5 separate regions of the Homo sapiens genome follow, and all the other regions are linked to region 1. Evidence: promoter capture Hi-C in 16 types of primary human blood cells and fetal thymus (Javierre and others, 2016). All regions are on one chromosome and are shown on one strand. The core of a region is centred on a gene start or on the middle of the fragment in contact, and the rest is flanking DNA. Distances in the headings are between cores, read along the strand shown.

Evidence for each region. Contacts are between HindIII fragments. The CHiCAGO score rates a contact against its expected background, and 5 or more counts as called.
Region 2: a contact is called between a fragment that was not itself captured here and the fragment with the promoter of DUSP19 in region 1, in 4 of 17 cell types (non-activated CD4 T cells, total CD4 T cells, activated CD4 T cells and 1 more). The highest score is 8.8, in non-activated CD4 T cells.
Region 3: a fragment that was not itself captured here is called in contact with the fragment with the promoter of DUSP19 in region 1 in 1 of 17 cell types (total CD4 T cells); the score reaches 5.2 in total CD4 T cells.
Region 4: a fragment that was not itself captured here is called in contact with the fragment with the promoter of DUSP19 in region 1 in 8 of 17 cell types (naive CD8 T cells, non-activated CD4 T cells, total B cells and 5 more); the score reaches 10.2 in naive CD8 T cells.
Region 5: a fragment that was not itself captured here is called in contact with the fragment with the promoter of DUSP19 in region 1 in 1 of 17 cell types (non-activated CD4 T cells); the score reaches 10.5 in non-activated CD4 T cells.

The regions. Positions count from the first base shown.
Region 1 is chr2:183,077,131-183,080,187 of GRCh38, reverse strand. DUSP19 (dual specificity phosphatase 19) reads right to left here and starts at 1,441. Exons shown (of 4, transcript NM_080876.4): 1 at 1,029-1,441. The coding sequence starts at 1,254. The HindIII fragment of the contact is 1,671 bases long and covers 787-2,457 here.
Region 2 is chr2:180,011,258-180,014,205 of GRCh38, reverse strand. No RefSeq gene overlaps it. Among named protein-coding and RNA genes, the nearest start is that of CWC22, 5.4 kb to the right of the region's middle. The HindIII fragment of the contact is 3,469 bases long and covers 1-2,948 here.
Region 3 is chr2:179,992,308-179,995,290 of GRCh38, reverse strand. It overlaps CWC22 (CWC22 spliceosome associated protein), which reads left to right. Exons shown (of 20, transcript NM_020943.3): 2 at 1,837-1,976. The coding sequence starts at 1,950. Among named protein-coding and RNA genes, the nearest start is that of CWC22, 13 kb to the left of the region's middle. The HindIII fragment of the contact is 523 bases long and covers 1,294-1,816 here.
Region 4 is chr2:186,479,491-186,482,502 of GRCh38, reverse strand. The region is part of intron 1 of LOC105373785 (a long non-coding RNA gene); the gene reads left to right. Among named protein-coding and RNA genes, the nearest start is that of ZC3H15, 5.3 kb to the left of the region's middle. The HindIII fragment of the contact is 1,180 bases long and covers 965-2,144 here.
Region 5 is chr2:186,591,960-186,595,334 of GRCh38, reverse strand. The region is part of intron 1 of ITGAV (integrin subunit alpha V); the gene reads right to left. Among named protein-coding and RNA genes, the nearest start is that of ITGAV, 3.6 kb to the right of the region's middle. RefSeq lists a silencer at 1-153. The HindIII fragment of the contact is 2,842 bases long and covers 689-3,375 here.

The sequences.
Region 1 (3,057 bases), core at 192-2,691:
GGAGCAGGATTGAAAACTTGGTCTATGTGAGGCAGCCTAGTATAACAATGGACAGCAGGAGTCCATCAGACTTGGGCTTGATGCATACGTCTGTTATTTACCAGGTGTGTTACCTTGTGTAAATTACTTCACCAATTTTAAATCCTGGTTTCTATTTGTAAAACAAAGCTGATAATCCCTACTTCACAGGATTCCTCAAAGGAGTAAGACACTAGGTGAACAGCACCTGGGCTATTTCTCAGTCTTCTCTCTATTCAAGAATGCCTTAGCTGCATAGTGATAAGTCATTTAGTCTTTCCAAGTCTTAATTTCTCTATTCATAAATAGAAATAATTCAGACGTACTTGAAAACATTCTTGACTATTTTTTTAAGAACACCATACCATATTCTTGCCAAATTAACAAGTTTGCACTTTTATAACCTTGCTTCATTTGCTATTTGTGAACTATGCTTGTATAGGGGCTCAGTATTTCCATAATACGAAATAAATCATAAGATCTTAAGATCTCCTTCTCTTAAACACTCCAAAAACAGACACCATGAACAGACGTGGCCACAGGAGGCATGTATTCCGCACGGTCTGTAAGAGCTGCGCAGGCCAGCAAGCACAGGACTATTTCGAGTATTAACTTTTCTATAACTTTAACCATTGTCACTTGTAGTTCTGCCTGATACAAACATTCTTTTTTCATTCCTTTTTTTTCAAGCTGTATTTTTTATAAGCCAAGAAAACACAACATCAATGTGTTATTCTCCAGAGAAGTTAGAGAAACGGGAAGAAAGCTTTTCTAAAATTCAAATATGCAGTGCCAAGTGCTACGAGAATAGCATCTATGCTTCTTATGGGTACACTGTGAGGCAGAAACGGCTCTAGCTGGCTAATGGAAGTTCCATATCCAAAAAAGGAAACAGTTCAGCTTTTCGGCAGGATAGCTGATAATACAGACTATTACGCATAAAGGGGGAAAATGAGAACGTAATCTGGCTAAAAGGACTCAATGATCTAGTGGCAAGTCGATATACTCACCTAGGAGCAACCATGGCTTAATAACGCCAACTTGCAGGTCCGAGCTAAGGTCCTGCACATAACCACAACCACCCCCACTGCTCGGCTCTACTTCTTCCACAACATGAATTCTGGCATCTTTCCATGTTTCTATAATTTTCTTTCCAGTTAGCGTTGTCACCCTGGTGCATTGCTTCCTGAGATTATTCCGGGAGAATGCTTTAATTTCCTGGTTAAGGGAGTACATTACATGAGCAGTGGCTGGGAACAAATACAAACAAATCCAGCAGGCATAGAAAACGGCTGAACTGCTAGTCCCTTATTGCCCAGGTAACAAAGCCAGCCTCAGAGGTGCTCGCCCATCCAGGTAACCGCAGCAGCCACAGACCAAGAGACTGAGTCGTCCAGCTCCGTTTATCCCAGCGATGCAATGTAAGGCGAAATTTGATTGGTCATTGAGACACAAGTGCCGATTGGATGCTGTTTCTTCTTCCTGTCAGCCAGAAACCTGCATTTTCCCGAAAGGCTCGAGGGATCCACTGGGGAAGATTTCTTATTGTTGCTGTTTAAATTTAGCTTTCTAATACACGCAGAATGGTAAAATATAAGACTTCGTTGGAGAGAGGAATGATATGTCCTGGTTCTTTAAAGGCAGTGATTTTCTGATATATTCTGTTAGTGTCACTTACGGCAGTGACCATGGACGATCCGGGCTGACCTGTGTATCGCTCCCGCTTGAAAGAGACCGGCGGAGTCACCTTGCAAATCACCCTATGTCCCAAAGCCTTTCCTGCCTGTCTGCTTTTAGGCTAGTCCAGGAGGGCTAGAGCAGACGTTAAAAGTTATTTCTCGCTTCCTGTATCCTTCACACCTTCTGCTTTTGCTGTTAATGCAAGAGGAACGTTTACTAGATAAAGTTGTTGTGCGTATTTGTGAGGCAACAATTTAAATAAACTGGGAAAAAAGATATATTTTTTAAAATTTATGCTCATATATGTAGATTGACAAGAGCTTAAAATTTATTTATTTTCTGACTTTCAGCCTACATTTTCATTTCATACAGTAAATATACATCCTAAATAAGAATTGCAGCAAGTCCATCCATACGAAGAATTAAGAAAATCAATTGTGTAAGCATCCAAATTTGTAAAACAGATAAATAAATTATAGAACGATGATTCTGATTACCAAAAAAAAGTTTTGCAAAAGAAATCACAAGATTCCTTTAAAGAGAAATTTTTCAAACCCCTATTAAAGTAAATGTAATTTTAAATGAATTTCAACACAATGTATAAACACATATATAAAATGAAGAAGTTGCACTTATGAAAACTTTTCTTCCAATACCACATATTAAAATTTGTGTTGTTGTTGAAACTTTCTGACATAAAAAAATTCAACTGTTATGGATTGACTATTTCTGTCCCTTCAAAATGCATATGTTAAAGCTTTAAACCTCAAGGTGATGGTATTTAAATGGGACTTTTGGGATGTAATTTAGGATTAGACTAAGACCCTAGGGTAGGGTCCTCATGATGGGTTTAGTGGCTTCAGGAGAACTGAAAGAAATCTGCCTGCTCCCCTATATGGACCAAGGAAAGACAGTATGAGGACATAAGGAGAAGCTGGCTGTCTGCAAGCCAGGAAGAGAGCTTTCAGCAGGAACTGAATAGGCCAGCACCTTGATCTTGGACTTCTCAGCCTCCAGAACTGTAAGAAAATATATTTCGGTTGTTTAAGCAACAAAGTTTATGGCATTTTGTTAGAGCAGCCTGAGCAAACTGAGATATAAACCAAACTTCTCCCTCTTGAAAAAGGAATAGGCCCAGTACAGTGGCGCATGCCTGTAATTCCAGCACTTTGGGAGGCCAAAATGGGTGGATTGCTTGAGCCCAGGAGTTCGAGACCAGCCTGGGCAACATGATGAAACCCCAACTCCACTAAAAAATACAAAAAATTAGCCAGGTTTGGTGGCACGTGCCTGTAGTCTCAGCTACCTGGGAGGCTGAGGTGGGAGGATCACCTGAGCTAAGGAGGTTGAGGCTGCAGT
Region 2 (2,948 bases), core at 262-2,761, 3.1 Mb after region 1:
CACCTCCAACCTTGGTCGGGGAAGGGGGACCACATTTAAACCTGACATTTGGAGGGGACAAACATCCAAACTATATTAAATGGCCTAAAATTTCACCCAATGTAAGACTCTTCTAACAGGCAATCCTTACTCTGGACCTCTCTGTTGGGCTTTCAAAGACCTGTCAGATTTCATCATGATCTGCTGAGTTTTTCTGCTCAATCTTGCTTTCTGTCTTTTCCTTTCACAGGTATTACTTTCTAATACACTTTTGACACCCCTGTTTCTATCTCAGTATCTGCTTCTTAGAGGATCCAATTGATACAGTGATTCCAGGAATGATTCAAAAAAAAAAAAACAAGTGGTAAGTTGAGACTTTGACACTGGACCCCTCATTATCTGAATGACAAACAAGAGCCCACTGCAGGTGGCATATGGGGCACAGTTAGTCCCTGGCACAATATAGTAGCCCAGCTGCTAAAATACTTCACTGGTAAATAGTACTGGAACATAATACCAGATAAATAAGAATTTATTGACATTGGGGCACTCTCTTGGGATATAAGATTAAACTCGCTGGAAAGGATCTGAGGAGGTAGAGCAAATTTGCTGCTAGGGTACCTCTAGACACCTGGAGAAAGTGATGGCCCATGCTGAGGAAAACTGAAATGCCTAAATTGTCATTGCGGACAATGGAGGAAGGCAGTAAGAGGACCAGGAAAGCGGATATGCTGGAGTGGATGTGAGATCAGAAAGCCTACTAGAAAAAATTATTTTCCACAGGAGGCCATGAGGACACATCATTCCCCAAGGTCATCAGGAATTTGCTAGTAAGCGGGGCACCAACATCACCAAGACATCCAGCACTGGCTCTTCTCAACAGGTCAGTGCTGACTGTAGGAGAGGCTGTCATAGAACTTGGCTCCTTAGTAACAATGAGGATCATGGAGCCCAAGAGCAAGAGAGGTTGAAGTAAAACTTAATCCTCAATGCTGGGGGTGGGGTGGGTCACAATTATCATTGTGCCCAACAATGTCAGAGCAGCAGCTAAGAGAGAATTGTGAAGACAGTTAATAAAACATAGTGTCACTAGGAGCAAAATACATGGGCTTCCAATGAGGATGCTGCTTGATACATGCAATTAAAGGAAAGAATGGATGAACAGGGGGCTGAGGGTGGTCACACCAATAAAAAGTCACAATATCTTGCCCACTTCCTGGATCTGTGCCAGTTGTCAAGCTATCGAGACTTGTCTGGGTCTCAGGAAGAAATATCCTGTGATATCAAGTCAAGTATGACATGTAATGATTCCCCTAGTCCTTCCCCAAAGAGATCCATTTCTACATACTTGAATGACCGTACATTCGGAAAAGGAGTACCCACACTTCCTGAGAACTATTGCACACAGGATCAGAATTAACACTGATACCTAAAGATCTGAAGAAACATCATGACTCTCCTTTCGAAATGAAAGCATACGGAGGCCATGAGTCATGTCCATGAGTCTGTTCAGAGTCTGCTCACAATGAGTCCACTGGGTTCACAAATCAACCCAGTGGACATTTACTCCATCTTCAGGTGTTTAATTGGGACTGACATATTTCACAGTTGGAGCAACTTCCATGTATTGTTCTTGGCCTATGGAGTAAGAGCTATCATAGTGAGCAAAGCTAAAAAGAAGTCTTTAAAACTGCCTCTCTTGCCCAAGAGACAACATCTAAAACAATATAATGTGCCTAGAAAATGGTGCAGATTAATGATACCCATAAAATATACATAAAAAATAAAATACAAACAAAAAAATAAAAAAGATGCAGGGTTGATAGTTTCCATCATATCTCCATTTAATTCAACAGTCTGGCCTTAGCAGAAACTAGATGAACTATAATAGAAGAATGATTGTAGACTACCAAAAATTTAACAAAGTAGCAGCCCCGGTTGCGATTGACATGCCAAGCATAGTATCATTGATAAAGCAGGCTAATATGGCTCCAGGTATATGGTATGCAGCTATCGGTTTGGAGAATTCATTCTTTTCTATCCCAATCAAGCAAGACAATTTAAAATAGTTCATGTCCATATGAAATAAATAGTTCATGTCCATATGAAATATAATATCAATATACATTGAAACTTTTCCCCAGGACTATATTAAGTTTCCTACTCACACTTACAGTCCAAAGAGATAGGAATCATCTGGAAATCCTGTAGAATATTATATTGATTCATTACATCATGACATCATGCTGATCAAACACGTTTAGCGAGAGGTTATTAGCATGCTCAAGGTTTGTGCTCCAGAGAGTGAGAAATGAACCCTTGGAAGAATCATGGAGGGACCTGGTTCTTTATTAAAGACATTAAGGGCCCATTGTTCAGAGGAGTGCTAGGATATCCCCTCCAAAATACAAGACAAATGGCAGCATCTTACCTCCAATATGAAAAAGGAAAAAGCACAACGCCTAGGAGGCTGCTTTGGGTTCTGTAAGCCACATACTCTACACCTAGAAATATTTTTCTCATCCATAAACCAGGTGACATAAAAAGCTGACAATTTTGCAGCCTGGCACAGGAAAGGGTTCTACAGCAGGATTGAGCTGTAGTGAAAATAGCCTCGACAATGGGCTATATGATCTGGCAGATCCTATGATGTTAGAGGTGTCAGTGGTGGAAAAAGATGTAGTATGGAGTTTATAGAAATCTCAGTGGGAAAATCACAGTTCAGGTGCCTGGGGATCTAGATGAAGGCTGCAAGTCTTTCGAAAAATGGCCCTTCTAATGCTACTGGTAAAGAGGAAATGCTTACTGTGGGACACTAAGTGACACAAAACAAAATGTACCTTGACTCCAGCCTGGGCGATAGAGCGAGACTCCATCTAAAAAAAAAAAAATTGGCTTGTTGGACACACCAGGTTATAAGTTCTGGGAAGCTGAACTGTAATCCATCGTAAGATAAAAGAATTACATTT
Region 3 (2,983 bases), core at 306-2,805, 3.1 Mb after region 1:
GGATTTTCTCAATTATTTATCTAAGGTATAGCATCGAGTAGGAAAAGTTACTCTGAAACTAAGTTCAAACAATGATGTCATAGTTGTGGGCATAATAAGGTCCTAGATAGACTAGTCTGTGGGCATCAGGATTTAGGACCCAGAGTAATCTTTTTTTGTTTGTTTGTTTGTTTGAGACGAAGTCTCACTCTGTTGCCCAGGCTGGAGTGCAGTGGCACGATCTCAGCTCACTGCAAGCTCCGCCTCCCAGGTTCACGCCATTCTCCCACCTCAGCCTCCGGAGTAGCTGGGACTACAGGCGCCCGCCACCACGCCTGGCTAATTTTTTGTAATTTTTCAGTAGAGACGGGGTTTCACTGTGTTTGCCAGGATGGTGTCAATCTCCTGACCTTGTGATCCACCCACCTCGGCCTCCCAAAGTGCTGATAAACTTTAAAAAGATACATAAAGAAAAGATTGGGGGACAACTTGCCAGCTGAAAACAAGGCTGAGCTTTCTAAACAACTGCAATAATAACTAATTGAAGAAAGAGCCTGTTAATAAGCGTATTATGTAAAGTTACACACATTTGTCTCTTTAACTGTAAGCCTCGTACATAAGCAGTGATGTGCTTTAGATTGTAGTTATATTTTATAGATTGATAAGTTTGCCTTTACTAACCTTGACACCATGCCAATCATTGTAATAGAAACATTTCTTGACTTAGTAATTCGTATACATCCCCATCTGCATTAAATGACAGCCGCTCTGTATCACTTTATAATGTCAAGACTATTTGTATGTGTGTGCCAGTGAAAGGAATACTTAACAGGGTGTCCTTATGGTAGGTTTCTAGTTGTAAGTCTAGCTGGCATTATAATTTAATTATTATAATTATAATTGAAATAGGATATCTGGCTTTCAGTGTTCTCTTTTAAAAGAAGGAATTGGACCAGATAATCTGTTATACCCTTTCTGACACTCAAATTAATTTTTTTTTCCAGTTGTATTCAGTTATTTTGCTACTAAGCACGTTGCTTTCTCTGCATTCTCTGTATCTTTTAATCCTTTTATTTTCTATTTTATTTTTGGGATTTCAGTGCCTTATACTATAAACCATTTAGATATGTACTTCCAATAAAATATTTGAATGCAAGTTCTTTGTGAACATAAGTATCAATTTAGCATCTTGCAGAAATTGCTAAAACTTACTTAGAGTATTAAAACACATCTGAAGATTTTAGATTTAATGCTGATGACTAGGTTTATTCTGAGCTAAATACTTAGTTCTCATATGTGCATATATCTGAAGCTTTGTGCCATTAATAGATCACATTGAGACATAATTATTGTAGTTTAGCACCTTAAATTTCTATGTGGATTAAATTTATTTCTTAATGATCATTATTGCAAGGATATTGGGTATTTCATTCTTAGTCTGTGTAGAAACATTGGATTTTTATACTCAGTTTATATAGAGTTTCTCTTCTATCGTTTCCTCAGGTTTTTTTTAATAATATCACACTACTATTTTATGATGTAGGTATGTATCTCCCTCACTATGAGAACATTTTTAATAAAGTTATAGGACATCCCTTTTTAAATTAACTTTTGTTCCGCTTGGTCCTTAGAATAAAACCTTCTATTTGCTCTCTTGTTCATGGATTTTTTTTCTACTTGTATGTGTTAGGTATACATTATTATGTGTAACTACTTAAGGATTTTTACAATTTTTATTATATTTGTTTATGGATTAAGAAAAATAAAGCGGTCAAATGTCCATTGTATAGAAAAAATATATCATCATTTTTCACACTTTGTTAGTGTTAATAAAGCTTTCTTTGGTATATTTTATAGGTGATGTTTGCAGACAGAAAAAGTAAACTGTCAAGGAATTCAGAGCATTGGGTACTTGTTATTTGGACCAGTTTGAAGCATCTTTGATTTATTGGACCAACTGGCAACAGAAAATGAAAAGTAGTGTGGCACAGATAAAAGTAAGTGTTTGAAACTTAAAATGGAGGATGTAAACTTATAGTCAATTACCTATTCTTTAAATATAAATGCATTTATGTAATTAGGACATCAGAGCCAGACAGTAGAATGGCACTTAGGTTGGTGCAAAAGTAATTGCAGTTTTTGCAATTTTAAAAACCACAATTACTGTTTGCACCAACCTAATACATCCATCTAACTTAAACAATTTTAAATGTAGATACTTAGCTATATGGAAGTATTAGTGTGCAAGAGGGCAGTTGAGAACATACAGAAGTGTGTGTACGTGTGTGTGCGCGTGTGTGTGTGTGTATACACATGGATGCATGCGTCAGGGGCCTGCATATATCATGTGAATGATCACATGTAAAAGAAAAACAAGTAACAAACAGTGCAGGGAAATTTCTGCATATCTGTTTACAACGTGAGCCTCTTGGATATTTCTTATGAATAGATGGATGGTCTCTTTATTCTGTGCTGTACTTTAGACAGTGTGCGTTCATTTATTTAACAAATGCATATTGAGTTCTAGTGATGGTTGTAAGAACTTTGAACAAAATAGTTTTATATGTGTTATATTGATTGTTAGATGTTATAGTGATTGTTCTAAGAACTTTGAACAAAATAGTGAATAAAACAAATCCTTATTTTCATGGAGTTTACATTATAGTTGTTGTGGGGAGGAGATAAAATAAATTATAAACTTGATAAGTTATGTAGTATGTTAGAATGTTAAGTAATAGAATTGTCCTATGGAGAAAAGAAGTAGAAAAGGGTAGGGGGATTCAACATTGAGGGGTTGCAGTTTTTAATAGAGGGATGAGTAGGGCCCATTGAAAAGATAGCCATTTGAGCAGAGACTTGAAAATGTAAGAGTTAACTATGCCGATATCTGGGGAAAGAGTGTGCCTGGCAAAAGGAACAGCAAAGGCAAAGAATCTAGAGTGGAGCAGGTATCAGAAGGGGAGAATTGTAGGAGGTGAGATCAGGGCAGGAATAGGGACCAGTA
Region 4 (3,012 bases), core at 305-2,804, 3.4 Mb before region 1:
CAAAAGTAAATTTTCAAATGTATGAATTTGATAGTGTCACCCTATTTCATAACTTCTTTGAAGACCTCCCATATACATATATACAGGTTTTAATTTGCATTGATGATTATTCCATAGCTACAATAGTTAATTTTCTTGTAATAAGCGTAAACATTTTTCATACATTTATATAGTCTTAGAAGACAAAATCAAAACCCTGTAAGGAATTTTTTTTTCTTCTCGGTAAGTTTGTAAACTGAGACATGATATTTTATTGTTTTCCCATAACGCATTGCATATTTTCTTAAATATAGGTGCTTAATAAATGTATATTTTAGTGGTTCTCAAATTATGCTCATATGAAAGAGTTCAGTAGGTTGGACTAAGATGATCTACTAAATTGAATGATGATGTATTTCTAATTAACAGAAAAATATTTTTTTTCAATTTTAAGCTTTTTTCCCTCATAGTCATTCTTAAAAAATTAGTAGATTGCTAGCATTTTTCACCTAGCAGATTAAAAAAAAAAAGAAACAGTAATGGATCAAATATTTCATGTGACTGGAAAACCTATATATTCAAAATAATGTGGGGACATTTATGTAAAATATGGTCTTATGTTACAGTCTTTTTGGTGAAATTAAATTTATTAATATATTTTAAATTTTTCCATATAACACCACAAGTTCCAGGTATTTGCTACCTGAAAACATTTCAGAACCACTGTTTTAATGGATTGAATACCATCTCACCTTATAGCTGGATTTAGTGTCATTTATCCTTGAATCCTAAAACCTTTGAAGTGGGAAAGTTGTTCCTAAAAGAACTATCAAATTAGATTCTTCTTATGAAAGCTAATTTTCCATTTCTCTTTTATGACACACTGTATAAAAGGTCATGTTTTATAGTCAAAATATGTGGGTTAAATTTCTTCCCTTCCACTTATATAGGTGACTTTAGGCAAATTGTTGGACACTGGTAAGCTTTACTCTTCTTATATATAAAAGAGGAATAATACTGTTCCTAGCTCATAGGGCTATTGGAAGGACGAAATGATATAATGCATGTCAGTCACTTATTAGAGTACTTGGCACATGTAAACACATAATTAGTGGATACTACTATATAATTCAGGTCATAGTGTAAAGAAGTAAGGAATTCAGCATTGATACATTAATTTCTAAATGAGCTTACTCCAGTAAATATGGAGAATATAAAATCAGGAGATTGGGTGACTGAATGTGGGAGCTGAGGGGAAGAAGTCAGAAAGTAGAAGAGGATCCAGGTGGCAAGCATGGGCAAGTGATCAATGTGGGTGCCAGGGAGGTTACATAGGCAATGATTGGAATGTGTGGCCAGGGCAAGAAATAACATATCCAGTTTTGGCTCTGCTGAATTTATGGTCCTAGTGCGTCATTTATGTGGCAAAATCCAATGGTATATATTTGACTTGTAAACTCAGAAGAGAGTTTAGAACATGGTGGCCAATGGGAATGGATTACTTTGAAAAAGATTGTAGAGAGCCAAAAAAGAATAAAAATGTGAGGAACAATGTTTAAAAGGTAAATACAGAAAAAGAAGTTTAGGGAGGAAAGTGAAAAGAGGCAACTGTGGCAGGGACCCTAGGGAGAAGAACTTTTTGGGTAGTAGAGTATCAACAGGGCCTGGTAATTTTGCCTTGAGTTGGCTTAAATACGGCTACTTACTCATTCCACATTAGGATGAATCATACTGGACATCCAATTTAAGACATGGCTATCTGAAACAAGTGTATATTTCCAACTCTATTGACCTATATTTCTTTTCTTACATATATGGATACTGCCATCTGCTGATAACTGGCATTTTTGAGGGGTCTTTTTTGTAATTATGACATTGTATTTAAGGTATCGTTTCCCTTGTTCCCTTTTTGGATATATTCTTCCCACAGGTCTCCACATGGCTGACTCATTTTCATCCTACAGATAGCAGCTCAGGTGGCAATTCTTCTAAACAGTTATCCCTGACCACTACATCTAAACAACTTCTACCCTCTGCTCCTAGTTAATATCTATGTCATCATGTGTTTCACTCCTTTAATTTTAGATTTATCTTAATTTGTAATTACTTTGTGTTTTTATGTCTTCATTTCTTACTTGGGTATCTCTTGTCCCAGAATATAAGCTTCATGGGAGCAGGAACCTTGGCTCCCATCAGGTGCCTAATGCAACCTGTCTCTTAGAAAGAGCTCAATAAATGTGCTTTTAAAAATGAGCGATGGTGGCCGGGTGCAGTGGCTCACGCCTGTAATCTCAGCACTTTGGGGGGCCAAATGTGAATCACTTGAGCCCAGGAGTTCGAGACTAGTTTGGCAACATGGCAATACCCCGTATCTACTAAAAACACAAAAATTAGCTGGGCGTGGTGGCACATGCCTGTAATCCCAGCTACTTGGAAGGCTGAGGCACGAGAGTAGCTTGAACCTAGGAGGGGGAGGTTGCAGTGAGCAGAGATTGTGCCACTGCACTCCAGCCTGCGCAAGGAGCGAGACTTGGTCTTGGAATAAAAAAAGATGATGAGCGAGAACTAGAGCTGGCTGAGAGTTCTTGCCCCATTTGTGCTATAAGAGTATATTTAGTTTTGGTATTTATCTTATCTTTTGAATATGAATTTAACAAAATCTTCTGTGCCAAGATGTTATGATCACCCTGATACATCTGGGGATTTTTCCAATAATAATGGTGATGTGCTATTTGTCCCTAAGTCCAAGATTACACAATAAAGGAACAAAATTAATAGATGGCACTTACAAGGATAAATGTCTTTAACTAGGTGTATGCATACATTTGTAGGTGCCTTTTCTTTTGAGTTCCCCTGATGATGCCTCAGCTGCTTGTCATGGAATGTGGGTTTGTAATAGTGGGGAATGGGAAATGGGCAATGTGGAAAGGAAAACGTTGCTAATATATTTACTTGTGCTCTGGACGCGAAATAGCACTTCGTCTTCTTCAATGATGCAGATTAACAACACAAAATGAGAAAAGATTTCAAAAA
Region 5 (3,375 bases), core at 860-3,359, 3.5 Mb before region 1:
GCAACCTGCCAAACAATGACAAGTCCATTTTTCAAACCCTCCAAATAAACTAACTTGTTTGTCTGCTTTCAGCACTGACCTTTCTAAGATAAAGCATGTTTAATATATTTAGCTGACTCTGAGTTGACCAATGAGCCTTCACCAAAAGGAACTTCTGAAAAACTATCATACATGTATATAGAAATAAATGTGTATGAAATAGTACTGAATGTTATTTCAAAGCTACAATTCCAGTTTCAGATTTACTTTTCATTTTTTAAAAAATGCTTTTTTGAATCAAAAGAAAAACAAAAATGCCAGTCAACAACTACTGTAAAACAGAAGCAGTAACTACAATTTCCACATATTTTCCCTTGTCTTTCATAATGCTCTATGAAACATCATATGTCCTTAATCAGAAGTAATATAGGATTTGCTTTCTAAATAACAAAATTATAGCCTAGTTTTATGTCCCCTAATATACATGTATATTATTTATGATGAGAAAAATCAGCCAATATAATCAGAGCTACTCTGAAGTTTATAAAAAATGAGCTGGCATCATTTTGTAAAGTGTTGTGAAAAGGGTTAAAATGGTAAGAGTAGAAATGGTACATGAAGTTTTAAAAATACACACAGGTTGGGACAGATTGCAAGTGACCTTAATCCATGTTAAGCGGTTTGGACTTTCTTGCTGGCAATGGAAGCTTTATTATGAAAATTTTTGCAACAGAATACCAGGATGAAAAAGGATGTTACAGAAAGATAAAATGAATAGAAACAGACAAGATGTTCTGCACGTTTAAGAGCCAAATGATGGGCAGAGGGATGGGGGAGGACCTGAGTGCCACTGACTATGCTTGTCATAACTACACTGAAATAAGGAGTAGAAAGCAGAGATGGAATCAAGAAAACCTTAAAAAGGAAGAATTTCTAGGAGCTTCTGCCTGTTGACTAATCACTGACTGATATTAAGGTGGTGAAGTAGGAGAAACACAGAAAAATAGAACATGAGAGGGAGGAATATGAAAGTATTTCCAAGGTGACAGAGAAAATGATGCCAGCATTAATAGAAACAGAGGTGCAACTAACATCTCTTGGTGAAGACTTTTTAGTCAAATTGAGTTAAGACAGGCTAGTCAACGAGAAATGATTCACAGGCCAGGCCACTGGAATATCAAGTCAGAGATCTACTTTTAGATTTAAGATACAGCCAGGGCAAGAGTTTTATTTAAAAGGCTTTCCAGATATTGCAAACATGAAGTTAGGACTGAGAACCATTGAAGGACCTTCTGCTTCTAAGGCATACACATCTACACATTGCCAACTGTAAGATAAGGCTCCATTAGCGTTTAATGGGGGGAAAGGCAAGAATCCAGTGTCATTCATTATAGCATTATTTTAAAATAAAGAAATACATAAAATGAGAACTGTATAACATATATTTGAAGAATGAATTTTAAAATTGTTCAGTTATTTTCTTTAAAAATTCAATATTTGAATTAATAAAAGTGGGATTTGAATTTTACACCCTGTCTTCGGATCCTTCCCTTCCTTACCCTCTACTCACACCAACCTACTCAAATAACTAGACTGCAAACGGTTCTGCCTCCATTTCCTCCTCATCTGTAAGAATGAGTATATCTGCTTCCCCTTACTTCCCCCCGGTGGTGTGGGCTATAGAATGAAATGAGATATAAGTGCTTAGCAAATTATAAAATATGTTTACCAAAATAAGATGTCATCATTATAATTAAACCTAGGATGTAATTTTTAATTTTTCCAATTAGTCTCCACAAGAAAAGTATGACTCTAATTATTAGCCTGCATACAATCTTTAAATTTTATGTAAGTTTTACAACATAGCATAAATAAATGCTTATAGAAAAAAAAACAGAATGCGAATGTTTTTTCATAATTTTGAAAATCACTATATTTGTGAATTTTTACTTCGAACCTGACTCATTTCTGGAGTGATTTTTTGAGGGGCCGCCTTAACATTTTGCTTAGTACTTTGTCCTTCCCTTTAATAAATATTGATTCATTAATTTTCACAACAAAACTATGAACTATGCAGATAATTCAATAATAATTTTCTATAAAGAGAAAAATTAGGCATAAAATAATTCTACAGCTTCCCCAAGGTATGTGGACACCAAAACTGGAAAAAGCAACAGGAGTGGACGTCACAACCACTGCTCCTCACAAATCCTTCTCCCCTCAGAAGAAAGGCGCTCTTGAATTGACAAATACTTTTTCATTATGTGGCTTTTTTTCTTTTAAAAGTTTATGGTAATACCAAATAACAATAAATCCAACTGGTAATATTGGAAATGGCATCCCAAGTACCTTGGATTCCAATGCTTGTTAAATTTAAAGTGCCCTTCTAGAAAATTCAGCAAAATTTTACATAAATTTTTGTTAAATCTGAAAAGCTCAGTAAGTAAAAACCTGTGTTTATATACGTTTTGTTTAAAAAGAAAAAAGAAAAAAATTCAAGGTTGGTTTCCATTTTTTAAGTTACCTATACCTAGAGCTCTGTAGTCTATCGGTAACAAAGTTGCTGATGAATATTTCAAAATATTATATGCAACCAAACCCAAGTTCAATTTTACTTTATCATTAAAGGTCTATGAGTGAAGTCATGTAAACCTGTGAGGTCATAACACATTCATTGATTATAATGACTGGCCAAAGATTAGTCACCCTGGTTTGTAATCAGCAGTAGCAAATATCATGAAGAGTTCAACATCACTGCATTTTTCATGGAAAAAAAAAAAACACTTAAAGTTTATCAGCCTCTCATTTATCTTACACTAAACTCAGAGCACTGCTGAAGAATTAACAGTAACATTGTAAAACACTGCCATCAACTTTATTTTGTTGTTGTTATTGTTTGTTGTTTTTGATTTTGTTTTTGTTTCTGAGACAGTCTCTCTCTATCGCCCAGGCCACAGTGTGGTGGCACAATCTCCATTCACTGCAACCTCAACTTTCCAAGCAATCCTCTCATCTCAGCCTCCCGCAGAGCGAGGATTACAGGTGTGCACCACCATGCCCGGTTAATTTTTGTATTTTTTTGTAGTGACAGGGTTTCACCATGTTGCCCAGGTTGGTCTCAAATTCCTGAGCTCAGACAATCTGCCCATCTTGGCCTCCCAAGGTGCTGGGATTACAGGTGTGAGCCACTGTGCCTGGCCTGAAGTATTTAAATGCTAATTTTTGACTGAAGACATATATTTTCAAAATCATTAGAATTTCTCTACAAATTATATCTCACATTGAACCCTTGGGAGCAACTAAAATGTTCTGTCTCATGAAGGTATACACTTGAAAGTATCTGGAAACAAAAATGTTTAAAGATAACGTTTGGTATTCACCCCTGTGGTTAAAAAC